5 separate regions of the Homo sapiens genome follow, and regions 2, 3, 4 and 5 are each linked to region 1. Evidence: promoter capture Hi-C in 16 types of primary human blood cells and fetal thymus (Javierre and others, 2016). All regions are on one chromosome and are shown on one strand. The core of a region is centred on a gene start or on the middle of the fragment in contact, and the rest is flanking DNA. Distances in the headings are between cores, read along the strand shown. Region 1 holds the start of DEXI (Dexi homolog). Region 2 holds the start of USP7 (ubiquitin specific peptidase 7). Region 3 holds the start of HAPSTR1 (HUWE1 associated protein modifying stress responses). Region 4 overlaps HAPSTR1 (HUWE1 associated protein modifying stress responses). Region 5 overlaps SNX29 (sorting nexin 29).

Region 1 (2,685 bases), core at 68-2,567:
TGTCTTCTGACACCCCTAAATCTTTATCCTTCTAGGACAAGCGAGAATCCCCCAAAAGCCAAGGTCATCATCAAGCCAGGATGAGGACTGGAGGAGGAGCTGACAGCTCTGCCTCAAATGGATTTGGGAGCGAAGGCTTTTTCCATAAGCTTTGGGGGTAAGTCACAGAGCTACCCCAAATGTAACTTAGTCTCGGGGTCTCCTTCCTTTTCACCAGCTGTCCCCTTTGCTGGAGGAAGCTTTCCAGCCCAAACGAAGGGCTTAAGAGGAGTCTGGCCATTCCTGGCATCCAGTTAGACCTGGAGGAGGTGAACGGAGGAGAAGCCTGAGGGAGGGGTGTGTATCCGGCCTGGGAATTCCTCCCTCTCCCTTGCTAGCGCCCCAACCCGCCCTCATCCTGTTCAGAGAGGGCACTTACAGGCCTCGGAGGCAGGGGAGGGTCTCCTCCTGGGGAACCATCCCCGTCCAGATGGTGCCCCCAACCAGCTGCGGCGGCATGATCTGGGCGGCTGGTCCAGGGCATGGGTTGCGGATCGTGTAGGGAAGAGGGGAACAGCAGTCGAGACCCTACTCCAAGTACGCATCAAAGACGTCGAGCTCCGAGTCAGCATCGTAAAGGCCCGAGCCGGGGTCGGAGAGCACGCCGAGGTCCACGAGCGCCTGGTCCATGTCCTCGGGCAGGAAGACGAGGCCCACGTTGAGGACGATGTACTCCATGAGGAAGGCGTAGTACAGGATCAGCACATTGACGAAGAACAGGCCCACGTAGAACATAGAGGGCAGCAGCGGCGGCGGCACGTAGGGGACCAGGGGGCCCAGTGCGTCCAGGTGGGCCGCGACCCGGGCGCCGAGCATGCAGCGGGTGGCAAGGGCGGCGGCCCGGCGATCCCGGCGAACTCAGCCGCTGCGGCGCCCGGGCGGCCGGCGAGGGCACAGCGCAGCCATCCAGGGGTACCCTGGAGCCCGACAGAAGCAGGGCCGGGCTCCAGATGTCCCCTGGCAATTGCGCCCCGACCCCCGAAATGCGCCGGGCGGGTCACCGCACCCCGAGATGTGCCCCCAAGGATCTCTCGACCGCCCGGGCGGCGAGGCGGGCCCCCCTGAAGTGGCCCGCGGCTGCCCGGCTCCCTCGTGGCGCCTCCCTGGCGCTCGCAGGGCCTCGCAGAGCCGGTGGGGATCCCACCGCGGCTCAGTGTCTAGGGCCGGTCCCGGCAGCCTTCTCTCCCGCCCCGCCCCGCAGGTCCTCGCGCACCCCCCGCGCCCCCGCAGGCCCAGCACCCATGGCTGCGGCCGCCGCGTAGCCCTCCCGGTGGCGCTCGGAGCTCCGCCTCCCGAGGGGCCCCGAGCTCATTGGCAGGCCGCCCCCTGCACGCGCTAATTGGCCGGCTCAACGCCCGCGCTGATTGGCTCCGGCCGCCAGGGGGCGGGTACCGCTTCGCTCCGCCCCTCGGGGCCCTAGCGTCTGAGTTGCTTTCCTGGTTCGGGTCTGCCCTCAGATCTCAAATCGAATTCGCTCTGCGTATCGAATAGGGGGAGGTAAAAGAGACTGAACACAGTTCAAACCTAGACATAATGCTAAGGCCGCAAAAGCCGAAGGAAACCCGGGCTACCGCTGCACCTTGCTGCATGCCTCTTTGGGACTCCGTTTCTCCTTTAAAAGGAGGCGGGGTCGGGGAGGGGCGACGGACGGTTGCCCTGGAAATTTTGGACATTCCCAAAGCGCCAATTTTCATGGTGGAGATCCACCAGTGTCCCCTTCGCTTCTCCAAACTCTGGTTGCTGGAAGGTCCGCCCACTACGGAACCTGCATCCTAGAGTTAAGGAACACCTGAATAAAGAGATTCCGAGGTAGTTCAGATCTTCAACCATAAGGATGCTTTTTGTTTCTTTTTACTTTGTGAATCATGTTTAAAAGCAATAATACACATGGCTAAACATTCAAACAACCGTGAAGTACACAGAAAAGTGAGTCTCTCCCACCCACTGGTTCCCCTGCTCTTGGGTAACCGTTGCATGTCTTTCAGGAAAACATGATCTCGCCCAAAGAGCCTTCCAAAGCAGTTCAAGAAACCTTTAAATCTCAGGCCACACTGAGCTGAGTATTTTACATGCATCGCTTAATCGGAGGTATACAAGGCAGTGTAGTATGTATGTGCGTACTTTTTACAGATGAAAAATACGAGCCCAGGGATCCTACATTTCTGAGCCTGGGTGTGTTTCTTTGGAGGCCAGATCCTGTTCTTTTTTGCTCCATGACTTTGTCTTGCCCCACTCTATATGAATTACAGGACAAACCATTAACTCTCCACTCTTATCCATTTCTCCAACTGCTGAAGGTGAAACAAACCTTTACTCATTCATGCACTCTACCAATATTTGTTAAACACCTGCTATGTGCCAAACCTTGTGCTAGGCACTGGGGAGAACATTGGCCTCTGGCCCAGTTCTTTCTTGAGCAGAGTTAATGGGACACAGTGGACCTTTAATAAGGTTGATATGTAGAAGTGACTGAATGAATGAATGGATGGTAAACTTGAGAAGTCTTGCCCACACTGAACTTACCACTTCTAATCCAGGGTAGAAGTTAGATATATTCTGGCTCATGCAGAAAGTTGGGTGTTTCCTTTTTCATTTTAACGTGGTACTTTGGGAAATAGCATGGATTCTGGCTGAAGACCAGAGGAA
Region 2 (2,685 bases), core at 110-2,609, 2.0 Mb before region 1:
ACCTGGCCGGATGCTGGCTGCACCACACACTGCCAAGTACAAACTCCCCGAAAAACAGGTGGATTCGGAAACCAACAGCGCCCGGGTCAGAACTCTGGGCCAGTCCAAAACCTGACAACATCTGCGTTCCTTGCAGGTATTTTCGAACGTAAGCCCGACGCTAGGCAGTGCTGTTAGAAAGTGATTTGGAAGAGCGCTTCCGAGCCACGGCGCGCCCTCCGGGGGAGCGCACCGGAGCAGGTGCGGGCGAGCCCCGCGCCCGGGGAGGTCAGGAATTCCCCAGCCACACCAGATCCAACCGGACGCCCCAGAACGGGGACGGTCCCCGGAGTCCGCCTCCCAACCTGGGTGAGAAAACACCTCCGTCCCTCCGCTGCCTGAGCGCTCGAATTTACAACTCAGGGCGCTTTGTGCCGCGGAGGCCCGGCGGACGCGAGGTCGGGACAATGCACGGGGCCGGGGTCCCGGCGGCCGCCCCTCGCCCGCGGACCCGGCATGACTTTGCAGCCTCGCAGGCCGGGGCCGGGAGGCCAGGCCGAGGCCCGGCGGCCGCCCGGGGCCTGGTTAAAGATGGCGAGCCCCTCGCGTGGCTCCCGCGGCTCCCCCGGCCACAATGAAAGGCGCCCCCCGGCCCCGCCGCGGCCGGCCCTCGGGCCTCACCTTCCATCTCCATGTCCTCGGGCTCGCTCAACTGCTGCTCGCCCGCTTTCTGCTGCTGCTGCTGCTGCTGGTGGTTCATGTCGGCCGCGGCCTGGGCCTCGCCTGCGGCCGGGGGCCGGGGCTGCGAGCCCGGCGGGCGGGCGGCGGCGAGCCGGGGCGGCGGCGGCGGCGGCGGCGGCGGGGCGGCCTCCTCCTCCTCCTCCCGCGCGTCGTCGGCGACGGCGGCCCCGGGGCGGCCCGCGGCGGGCGGCGGCGGCGGCAGGGAGACGCGCACGTACTTGCTCGCGATTCGCCCAATCTCGGCGCCGAGGCGGGCGGGCGGCCGGCGGGCCGGGCCGGGCGGCCTCGTCGCTCGCTGCGGCCGCCGCCGCCGCCGCCGCGGGGCCCGCCTCCCGCCGCCGGGGCCGGGGCCGGGGCTGCGGGGCCGCGGGCCGGCCGGGGGCGGAGGGCGGCCGGTCGGGGGCCGCGGAGTCAGCCCCGCCTCGGGCCGGGCGCGGCGGACGGGAGGCCTGGCCGGCCGCGGCGGGCCTGCGGGCCCTGGGGCCGGCGGGAGCGGCGGAGCGGGCGGGCGACGGGCCGGCCGCGTTCCGAGAGCCGCGGCCTCCGCCTCCTCGGCGTCGTCGTCGGGGCTCCGGCAGCGGACGCGGCGCCCGGCAGCTCGGCTCGGCTCGCTCTCAAAATGGCGGCGGCGTGAAATGTCACATCCGCATGGGGGGCCGCGGAGCGAGCGAGCGAGCGAGGAGAGCAAGCGGGCGGGCGCCGAGCCGGAGGGCGGAGCGGGAGCGCAGGGCGGAGCACGGGAGGCGGAGCAGGGAGCGACCCGCCTGCCGCCGCCGCCGAGGCCCGCCTGCCCCGCAGCGCCGCGCCCCGGCACCGCCTGCGCCGCAGCCCCGCGGCGGACCCTCGGCGCTCCCTGCCCCCGGGCCCTGGGGGCCGAGGCGGGCCGCCCGGTGACTTAGCCCTGCGGAGGTGAACCGGAATCCTTCCCATCCTGGGGAGCCGGACACCCCGAAAGACCCAGGAGCGGCAATGAGGAGGGGCCCAGAAGCCACCCGGCAGCCGGGGTTCAGGTCCCAGCCTAGCGCGCCGGGGCGAGCGCTGGAGGTTGCCCGGGGACTGCTCGGGATAGGGCCCGGAAGGGAGCTTGGGGTCAGCGCCTAGAAGTTCCTGTTATTGTCGTTACTTACCCTTGCCCGCTGACGTGCACTTTTTCACCCAGTATCTACCGTGGAAGAATTTATTTTCTCACTGTCAGCCTAATCTGGCAAAGTTTGGCTCCTCAAGAGCAACCCCAGGCGGGGCGCAGCTGCTCACACCTGTGATCCCAGCACTTTGGGAGGCCGAGGTGGGAGAATCACTTGAGGCCAAGAGTAAGAGACCACCCTCTCTACAAAGGTTTTGGGTTTTGTTTTTATATTTTTGAAATGTATTTTTAATTAGCCGGGTGTTGTGCCTCCTGCCTGTAGTGACAGCTACTTGGGAGGCTGAGGCTGGAGGTTCGCTTGGGAGGTTGACTGAGGCTGCAGTGATCAAAGATGGCGCCACTGCACTCCAGCCTGGGCAACAGAATGAGACCCTGTCTCAACTAATAGTGATAATAAAATAATAATATAAAAATAAAACAAGCCCACTACCCTTCACATTTGGTATTAATTTACTTCCTTCCTATCAACCCAGTCTGGGATCATTCACCCGGGGCCTCCCTATTCCAGGAGACATTTGGTGAATATATCTCCTGTCCTGTCTCATTCAGTCATTGACAGACTGATGATTAGGGTCTCAACTTTTCCAGTTAATCAAGGCAGTGTGGGTCAATAAAAATGGAGCAAACCGATATACATTTCTACACATCTCAGGGGAGAATAGAATTTCACCCTAACAAGGCCAGAAGATTGTGGTACCTGTCTTCTCTCCATCTCCCTATACCCGCTTTCCCTGCATTTTTCTCCCATTTATGTACTGTTCATCTCCCTTCCCCCCGAAAGAATGTTTTGCTCACTGTTGTATCACAAATGCCTGGGATAC
Region 3 (2,685 bases), core at 110-2,609, 1.9 Mb before region 1:
GCAAGCGCACTATCGCAGGCTGCGGGCGACGCTGCCTCTGGCCGGCGCCCTCCGCCGCTCCAGGCCGGATGGTGCCTCCCGTGGGCATGTAGGTGGGGATGGTGGGTTTTGCCTCTGTGCGGTCACCGCCTGTCTGCGTTGCTGCCTTCTCCGGGGCCTCAGACCCTGGAGAAAGCCCCGACAGGGGAGGGGGGCGCGCAGCCGCAGGGGCGTCCAGCTATCGCGCACTGCGGGGGGAGTAGGGGCGGGCGCAGCGCTCGGCACCGCCACGCGGGTTCGGGCCGGGGAAGGCAGGGGCCGGTACGTGACGCGGGGCATGCACGTGGCCTGGGAGTGTGCTTTTCGGGACAGGTGCGGGGGCCGCCGCGCGCGCAAAGGCGCAGACGCACGCGTGCGGGCACCGGGCACCGTCGGCCGTCGGGTTATCCTTGGCTCCGCGGGCGGCCGCCGAGGTCCTGTCCACCCGGAAGGCGCGACGTCCTCGGGGGACGCCAGGGCGCAGGGGCAACTGAGCCGACTTCGCAACTCGGAAGTTTTTCTTTGGCTGTGATGGTCGATTTGCCCGTCTAAGAAATGGGACTCTGGGCCGGGCGCGGTGGCTCAAGCCTGTAATCCCAGCGCCCTGGGAGGCTGGAAGATCGCCTGAGGCCAGCAGTCTAGACCTCGACAACGTAGCAAGACCCCGTCTCAAAAAAAAAAAAAAAAAAGGGGGAGTACTCAAAAGAATAGGAAAGCGCTTTGCAAACTTGGACACGAGTTGGGCGTTTTATTCACTTTCTCTACTACCCTCCTCCCTTTGGGAGCCCCAGGGGCTGGAGTAAGCACGCTACCACCCACTATACCTCTCAGTGCCCGCGGCACAGGAGCCGCACTCGACTTTGCATCCCCCCAGGGCCTGTACACGCCGGAAAAGCTCCCGCGGGGTGCGGTCGCTGGGCCTCGTCACGTGATCCCCACTCAACGCCCCTGAGCGGGGGGGGGAGCAGCGAGCAAGTGCGCATGCGCATCCCTTCTAGCTCTTCCCCTCCACCCCCCACCCGCCCCCTTGGCTCGGACGCAACCACTGTCAGCTCCTCCCCCTCCTCCTCCTTCATCCTTCCTGACATTCACTCCCTTCCCCCAGCCAATTGGTTACGTCAGGCAGACAGGCCGAAGAACCAATCACGACGCTGTGCTCAGAAGCCGCCACGCGGAACCGGCCGGATCCGACTAATAGGGGCCCTTGGAGCGGCCACGCCTCAACCGGGCAGGGTAGCTTGGGCCCAGTGGGCGGTGCTTCTCCTGTCAGCATGTGGGCGGGGTAGGGCGGGGACCAGCAGCCGCAGAGCCGTCCTCGGCGGTGGCGACGACGACGACGTTGCTCAGTCTTGGGGTGGGCTCCGCGGTGCAGGCCGAGCTGCGCGGAGGGCTCGGCGATCAGCGGCGGCGGCGGCAGTGGGGAGGCCGCAGCGCCATGGGGGGGCGTTAGACAGGCTGCGGCGGCCGAGGCGAGGGGCGGCAGCGGTTATCTGGTCCGCGGCGACCTTCGGCCGGGCCCGGGGGTGGGAAGGCCTGGGGCGGGGGTCGTCCCTGGTTGCACGGGGCCGCGGGGCGGGGCTCGCCGGCCGTCGGGGTGCAGGAGGCCTGGGCCGCTGAAAGGAGAAGGCGCCGTCGGTCGCCAGGCCCTGCCGCCGGGCCGCTTGACGACGACGCTCCCGCGGGGGCCCCGCCTGAGGAGGACGCGGCGGCGGTGGCGGCGAGGCCGCGGGAGGCCGCGGAGGATGGAGGAGCGGAAGGAGGAGGGCGAGGCCGAGATCCAGGAGCACGGGCCCGAGCACTGGTTCTCCAAGTGGGAGCGGCAGTGCCTGGCCGAGGCCGAACAGGACGAGCAGCTGCCCCCCGAGCTGCAGGAGGAGGCGGCGGCCGCCGCGCAGCCCGAGCACAAGCAGCAGAAGCTGTGGCACCTCTTCCAGAACTCGGCCACCGCCGTGGCCCAGCTCTACAAAGGTGAGGCCGCCGCCGCCATCTTGGTACCGCTTGGCCGCCCCCGCCCGGGCCCGGCCCCGGCCCTATCGGCTCAGCGGCCGCTTCGGGGGGCCGCGACGGCGGCGGCCTCGGGGATCCCGGCCGGTGGCTCCGCGGCCCTGCCGCCCCCTCCCCGCAAGATGGCGCCGCGGGAGGGAGGCCCGGGGTTGGGGGGACAGGCCAGAGCCGGCGTGGGGGTAGCCCCGCTTTGGGGTGGTCCGAGGGTCCCCGCTCTCCGGGCCCGGCCACCCGGTGTCCCCCTCGGCCCGGAGACGGGAGAGGAGGAGCCCCCGTCACAAAATGGCGAAGGGAGACGGCGGGGCGGCCCCATTGTGCCCTGAGCCGGCCTCGGGGCGGGGACTGCCAGGGGGGGCGCTTCCCTGCGCCGCGGCTCGTCCCTGATCTGTGCCCCTGAGCTCTGCGGCATCCCCTTTTCCCCGCCGCGACCTCCCTGCCCCCCCGGTCCTCACACTGGGTTTGGGATCCCGAAACCCCTGAACAAAATGGCGAAACCTAATATGGCCGTTCCGGAGTGATTGACGCGCAAATAACATTCTTGTTCTCTTTCTTTCTCTTTCTATGTGTGTTTCTTTTTTCTTTTTGGTTTTTTTTTTTTTTGGCTTGCTTTTCAGACCGAGTGTGTCAGCAGCCAGGACTTTCTCTCTGGGTCCCCTTCCAAAA
Region 4 (2,685 bases), core at 1-2,500, 1.8 Mb before region 1:
TTGTTTTTTGAGATGGAGTCTCTGTCGCTGGAGTGCGGTGGTGCGATCCCAGCTCACCGCAATCTCTGCCTCCCGGGTTCAAGCGATTCTCCTGCCTATAACTACAGGTGTGCGCCACCACGCCCAGCTAATTTAATTTTGAATTTTTAGTAGAGACGGGATTTCACCATGTTGGCCAGGCCAGTCTTGAATTCCTGACCTTAAGTGATCTGCCCGCCTTGGCCTCCCCAAGTGCTGGGATTACAGGCATGAGACACTGCGCCTGGCCTATGTTTTAAGTTTCTCTATGACAAATTTCTGTAGATGAACTATCTGGGTCAAAAAAATTCATCTATAAAATACTGATGGGTCTTGCCAAAGTACCTTCTGCAAGGTACCAGTTAATACTTCCATCAGAAAGTAAGAGCGCCTGTTCCCTTACATCGTAGCCAGTGTTGGGTATTTATACTTCCTTTGGCAGAAGTGACCTTTCAGTTTTAATCTGTTTTTTACCTGCTCGTATGAAGGAAGACTTTTTGCTTGATATCACGTGGGTTTGAATGCTGACTCTACTACCAGGTCTGGGAACCTAGGTAAGTTTGCCTCTCTGGGCTGTTTTCTCATCTGTGAAATAAATAGAAAACATAGAAAAATAAATTAAAAAATGTGAATGTTAGTGACTTGTGTTCCTTGGAAGTTGGATACATTTACATCTCCATTTATAATTCTCCCATCAGCAGAGCCCTGGAGAACTCTGGAATGTGGCTGATAGCTTATCTTAACATGCCATTGAAAAATTAGCCCTTTTTGGCTAGGCGTGGTGGCTCACGCCTGTAATCCCAGCACTGGGAGGCCAAGGCGGGCAGATCACGAGGTCACAAGAGATTGAGACCATCCTGGCCAACATGGTGAAACCCCATCTCTACTAAAAATACAAAAATTAGCTGGGCGTGGTGGTACGCACCTGTAGTCCCAGCTACTTGGGAGGCTGAGACAGGAGAATCACTTGAATCCGGGAGGTGGAGAGGTTGCGGTGAGCAAAGATTGCACCACTGCACTCCAGCCTGGCGACAGAGCAAGACTCCGTCTAAAAAAAAGAAAAAGAAAAATTAGCCCTTTCTTTTTTCTTTGAGACAGGGTTTTACTCTCTTGCCTAGGCTGGAGTGCTTTGGTGCGATCATAGCTCACTGCAGCCTCGATAGGTAACACACTAAGTGGTGAGTTTTCAGGGAAGGGGCTTGTTCACATGTAAGAGAGATTTTAATTTTTCAAACTGAAGTTGAATGCCCTCCTAGGAGATGCCACAGGCCGGCAAGTACAGGCTGCCTCACTTCACTAGTACTTAACCCTCAAGCAGGGAAGCTACTCCCCTTTAGCCCAAGTAGAGGGAGTATGGGGTGCTGGTGTGGTTGCTGTGCACGGCCGCTGTTGGGGAGGGCCGTAGCATTTGCTTGTGTTTTAGGCCTGGTGGGCGTGTTCTCTGAGTTGCTGCTGGAAGTGTTGGGGCTCTCATCACTTAGTGGAATTGCCTTTGGGAGCTTCAGAAGGCCTGTGGTTTTCTGCAGCTTCAGCAACAAGGAGGGCTCAGCTGGCTGACAAGAGTTTTGTAGCTTGACCCTGGAAGAAGGGTTTGGGGGTGCCTGGGGCAGCCAGCTACCACTGGGCTGCTTTTGGCACCGGTGGGTCCAGTGGGCTCAACACTCAGAACTATTTGCTTGTGGACTCATAATCTGAATGCCCTCTATAAACCCACCAAGGTATGTGCCACTATAACTTAGAGCTTTAAGGAAGGATTCTAAGACCATTCATACCTCTTCCTCAGGAGTGGCGGTGCCAGGGCTGAAGTTCCCTGGGGAAAAGGGGATCACCTGCTAAACTGTCCTTGAGTGTAGTGGGCAGGAGCTTAATCACTCCCAAACTCTTTTCCCCATGGTGAGTCTCAAGATCACCATGGCCATGTTGATTTCAAGGTGTATGTAGAAATTTGTAACTACCAAGAAGTTCTTATTTGCTGTTTGGGGTCTCTTAGGTTAATGTGAATGTTGTATAGAACTGTGTTTGCGTACACAATTGCATTGGGCACAGGAAGGCTCGCCTCTTGCCCATCCTCAGTGTTTCTCAGACATACTGGACTATGATCTGTGGTAAGAAATACCTCTCCCATCAAGATCTTTTACCCAGCCACACCTTTTGTGAATGAACACACAGAACTGATGAAACAGGTCTCAGCAGTTCTTAGCTTTTTATGTCAAATGCACTTTATAGCTTCTTGCTGTTTCACTGAACAGGATGTTGTATGTGACCAACTGTGTTGATTTCACAGCCAGCTTGAAAACCTGGGCTCTCTGGACCTCAGCATGCAGCACAGGGTAGGTATAGACATTTCTTGAATGAGTTCATAAAAGGTGGCTTGAAGTTTTCTAGGTTTTCACAAGGAACTCCCTATTTTTCCTCTTCCTGGGCCTTAGGTCTGTCAAGAACTAGGGTGGTGGTGAAGAGAAGGACTTTGGGGTCAGTAGGGTGTAGGTGACAGTCCCACTGGCGGCCTGCCTCCCGGGCCCCTCCCTCAAGGTTATGGTGTGGAGGATGCCTAGCACCATGCCTGGTGCGAAGTGAGGACTCAGATGTTAGCCTTTAAATGTGCTTGTCGTGGCATGGCTGGATAAGATTCCCTTCTCAGAGTCCGAGGGCTCGCTTCTGGGTTCT
Region 5 (2,685 bases), core at 63-2,562, 1.1 Mb after region 1:
TGTCTGGGCCTTCCTCAGCCGCTTTCTGTCTTTGAGGAAGTCACTGGCCTTGCCTGTGCATTTTCAGTGATGACATACATGCCCTTAAACATGCTCGAGTTAGGCCAGTGACAGAGGCGTAGATTGTTTTTCTTGTTTTGACTCAGACAATTTTTTAGAAACTATATCATTTTATTATTTGGCATTTTGAGCAAGTTTGGGACATATCCAGAGCTTATACCTTGAATCTCTGAAGAAAAAAATGTCACCATGTCTGCATTTGAGCCTTGATACTTGGTAGAAACGTGGTCTGTGGTTAGGATTGTGTGTGGGTGGCTGGGACAAGGGGCTTCTGTCTTCTGCGGTGCCTGTACCTTTAGGAGTCTTCAAGGACAGTGCTGTTGTCTACCCTGGATGTCATCCAGCACAGATGAGGGGTCAGGAATCCTAGAAATTTTGAGCGAAGGGTGGTTTTCACTTGTGTTTTCCCACCCTGCCATCACCTCCTGTGTCACATGCAAGAGGAGTAAGAAGAGTGGGTCTGTCTGGGTGTCCGGGGTATTTGCTTGGGCTACCATAACAAGGGGCCACAGATAGGGTGGCTTCAACAACAAAAACTTATTTTCTCGGCCGGGCACGGTGGCTCATGCCTGTAATCCTAGCACTTTGGGAGGCCGAGGTGGGGGGAATCACTTGAGGTCAGGAGTTCAAAACCAGCCTGGCCAACATGGTGAAACCCTGTCTCTACTAAAAATACAAAAAATTAGCATGGTGTGGTGGCTGGCACCTGTAATCTCGGCTACTCGGGATGCAGAGGCAGGAGAATCGCTTGAACCTGGGAGGCAAAGGCTGCAGTGAGCTGAGATTGCACCACTGCACTCCAGCCTGGGCGACAGAGCAAGACTATGTCTCAAAAAAAAAAAAAACCCCTCAAAACTTATTTTCTTACAGTTCTGGAGGCTGAAAGACCAAGATCAAGGTGCCAGCAGGGTTGATTTCTGGTAAGGCCTCTTTCCTTGGCTTGCAGACAGCCACCTTCTCTCTGTCCTTATGTGGCCTTTCCTCTGCAGGCACATCCTGGTGTCCCTTATCTCTTCTTATAAGGGCACCGGTCCTGTGGGATCAGAGCCCCATGCTTATGACCTTATTAACTTTGATTACCTCATTAAGGCCTTGTCTCCATATAAACTCCGATTGGGAGTTAGGTCTTCCACTGGTTCATTAGGGAAGGGATGCAATTCAGTCCATAGCATGAGTTGTCCCAGGAGTGAGTGTCGCAAATGCCGTCCCAGTTCAGATGGAGCATCCCATTGCTGCATGTGAAGCACCTGAGATTCTCCTCTAGAGCAGTCACTGGACTCTTGGAAACCCCAGAGGAGCTTGGCAAAGAAACTCATCAGCTCTGCCCCACAAAGCAGCGAATGCTTCACTCACATCCCGCCAAGTGGCTTCCCTGGCTTCGTGTAATAATCTGTGGAGGTGGCTGCCTCTGTACTGTAATTGAGCTAGAGCTAGGTAATTTAATCCTCAGTGCCTGCGGATAATTGTGAAGTCTTCTATCGAGCAACCTTTCCCTCTCAGGTATCTCTGAAATTGCAAAGGGTGTTTTGTCCTGAGGCATTCAGAGGGACTGTATTCTTGTGGTTATTTACTACTGAAGAGAAGATGGTGTATCCAGACCCACATGATTGTTCTCCTACTGCAAGGCCCTCTGGTACTTCAGAAAATACAAAAGCCTGTTATGAAAAAGTTAATTTTTTTTTTTTTTTGAGACGGAGTGTTGCTCTTATCGCCCAGGCTGGAGTGCAGTGGCACGATCTCGGGTCACTGAAACCTCCGCCTCCCGGATTCAGGCTATTCTCCTGCCTCAGCCTCATGAGTAGCTGGGATTACAGATGCCCGCCACCACACCCAGCTAATTTTTGTACTTTTAGTAGAGGCAGGGTTTCACCATGTTGGCCAGGCTGGTCTCGAACTCCTGACCTTGTGATCCGCCCACCTCGGCTTTCCAAAGTGAAAAAGTTAATTATTTAGCAAAGCAGTAAAGACAGTTTGGAGCAAACTAAAACACCCATAATTCTGCCTCAGGGATGCCTTGCATTTCTGCAGGTAGGTTCCCAGTTCTTGTTTCGGGCACACGGAGCTGTACCTGGGGTTGGAGTTGCAGCTGTGCCTGTTGCTCTCGGGAGGCCATGTGCCCTCAGGGCCGGGAGGGCACACTCGGAAGCTCAGCTGCCTGGGCTCAGGTTCCAGCTGAGTGGCCCCAGCCCCCTCAGTACCGTGTCCTTATCAAGATAGAGTGACAGGATCAACACCCAAATCATGGGCGGCCATGAAGATAACTGTGATGTGCTTAGAACAGCATCAGGATCAGAGTTAAGAGTCAATAAATAGGCCGGGTGCAGTGGCGCACACCTGTAATCCCAGCACTTTGGGAGGCCAAGGTGGGCAGATCACTTGAGGGCAGGAGTTTGAGACTAGCCAGGCCAACATAGTGAGACTCTGTCTCTATAAAAAATAAAAAAAATTACCTGGATATGGTGGTGCGTACCTGTATTCCCAGCTAATTGGGAGGCTGAGGCAGGAGGATTCTTTGAGCCCAGGAGGTCAAGGCTGCAGTGAGTTATGATTACACCACTGCACTCCAGCCTGGGTGACAGGGCTAGACCCGTCTCAAAAAGAAAAAGAAAAAAAAAAGAAATCCCC

Evidence for each region. The method cuts DNA at HindIII sites, captures the fragments that hold promoters and counts their contacts. A CHiCAGO score of 5 or more calls a contact.
Region 2: a contact is called between the fragment with the promoter of USP7 here and the fragment with the promoter of DEXI in region 1, in 12 of 17 cell types (fetal thymus, non-activated CD4 T cells, M1 macrophages and 9 more). The highest score is 15.6, in fetal thymus.
Region 3: the fragment with the promoter of HAPSTR1 here is called in contact with the fragment with the promoter of DEXI in region 1 in 8 of 17 cell types (M0 macrophages, M2 macrophages, non-activated CD4 T cells and 5 more); the score reaches 16.8 in M0 macrophages.
Region 4: a contact is called between a fragment that was not itself captured here and the fragment with the promoter of DEXI in region 1, in 1 of 17 cell types (endothelial precursors). The highest score is 5.1, in endothelial precursors.
Region 5: a contact is called between a fragment that was not itself captured here and the fragment with the promoter of DEXI in region 1, in 7 of 17 cell types (naive CD8 T cells, activated CD4 T cells, total CD8 T cells and 4 more). The highest score is 13.3, in naive CD8 T cells.

The regions. Positions count from the first base shown.
Region 1 is chr16:10,941,151-10,943,835 of GRCh38, forward strand. DEXI (Dexi homolog) reads right to left here and starts at 1,318. Exons shown (of 2, transcript NM_014015.4): 1 at 419-1,318. The coding sequence starts at 855. The coding sequence ends at 568. It also overlaps a transcript of CIITA not described here. RefSeq lists a silencer at 908-1,457. The HindIII fragment of the contact is 2,950 bases long and covers 238-2,685 here.
Region 2 is chr16:8,962,547-8,965,231 of GRCh38, forward strand. USP7 (ubiquitin specific peptidase 7) reads right to left here and starts at 1,360. Exons shown (of 31, transcript NM_003470.3): 1 at 661-1,360. The coding sequence starts at 739. USP7-AS1 (USP7 antisense RNA 1) reads left to right here and starts at 167. Exons shown (of 2, transcript NR_184341.1): 1 at 167-348. RefSeq lists an enhancer at 1-267 and a silencer at 1,463-1,822. The HindIII fragment of the contact is 5,189 bases long and covers 1-2,685 here.
Region 3 is chr16:9,090,285-9,092,969 of GRCh38, forward strand. It overlaps HAPSTR1 (HUWE1 associated protein modifying stress responses), which reads left to right and starts at 1,360. Exons shown (of 4, transcript NM_014117.3): 1 at 1,360-1,986; 2 at 2,637-2,685. The coding sequence starts at 1,761. RefSeq lists enhancers at 1-390, 2,660-2,685 and silencers at 301-431, 1,220-1,289, 1,460-1,799, 2,010-2,509. The HindIII fragment of the contact is 14,700 bases long and covers 1-2,685 here.
Region 4 is chr16:9,120,986-9,123,670 of GRCh38, forward strand. It overlaps HAPSTR1 (HUWE1 associated protein modifying stress responses), which reads left to right. Exons shown (of 4, transcript NM_014117.3): 4 at 1-650. Among named protein-coding and RNA genes, the nearest start is that of HAPSTR1, 31 kb to the left of the region's middle. RefSeq lists an enhancer at 2,504-2,685. The HindIII fragment of the contact is 6,607 bases long and covers 1-2,685 here.
Region 5 is chr16:12,082,415-12,085,099 of GRCh38, forward strand. The region is part of intron 11 of SNX29 (sorting nexin 29); the gene reads left to right. Among named protein-coding and RNA genes, the nearest start is that of SNX29, 110 kb to the left of the region's middle. The HindIII fragment of the contact is 5,369 bases long and covers 1-2,685 here.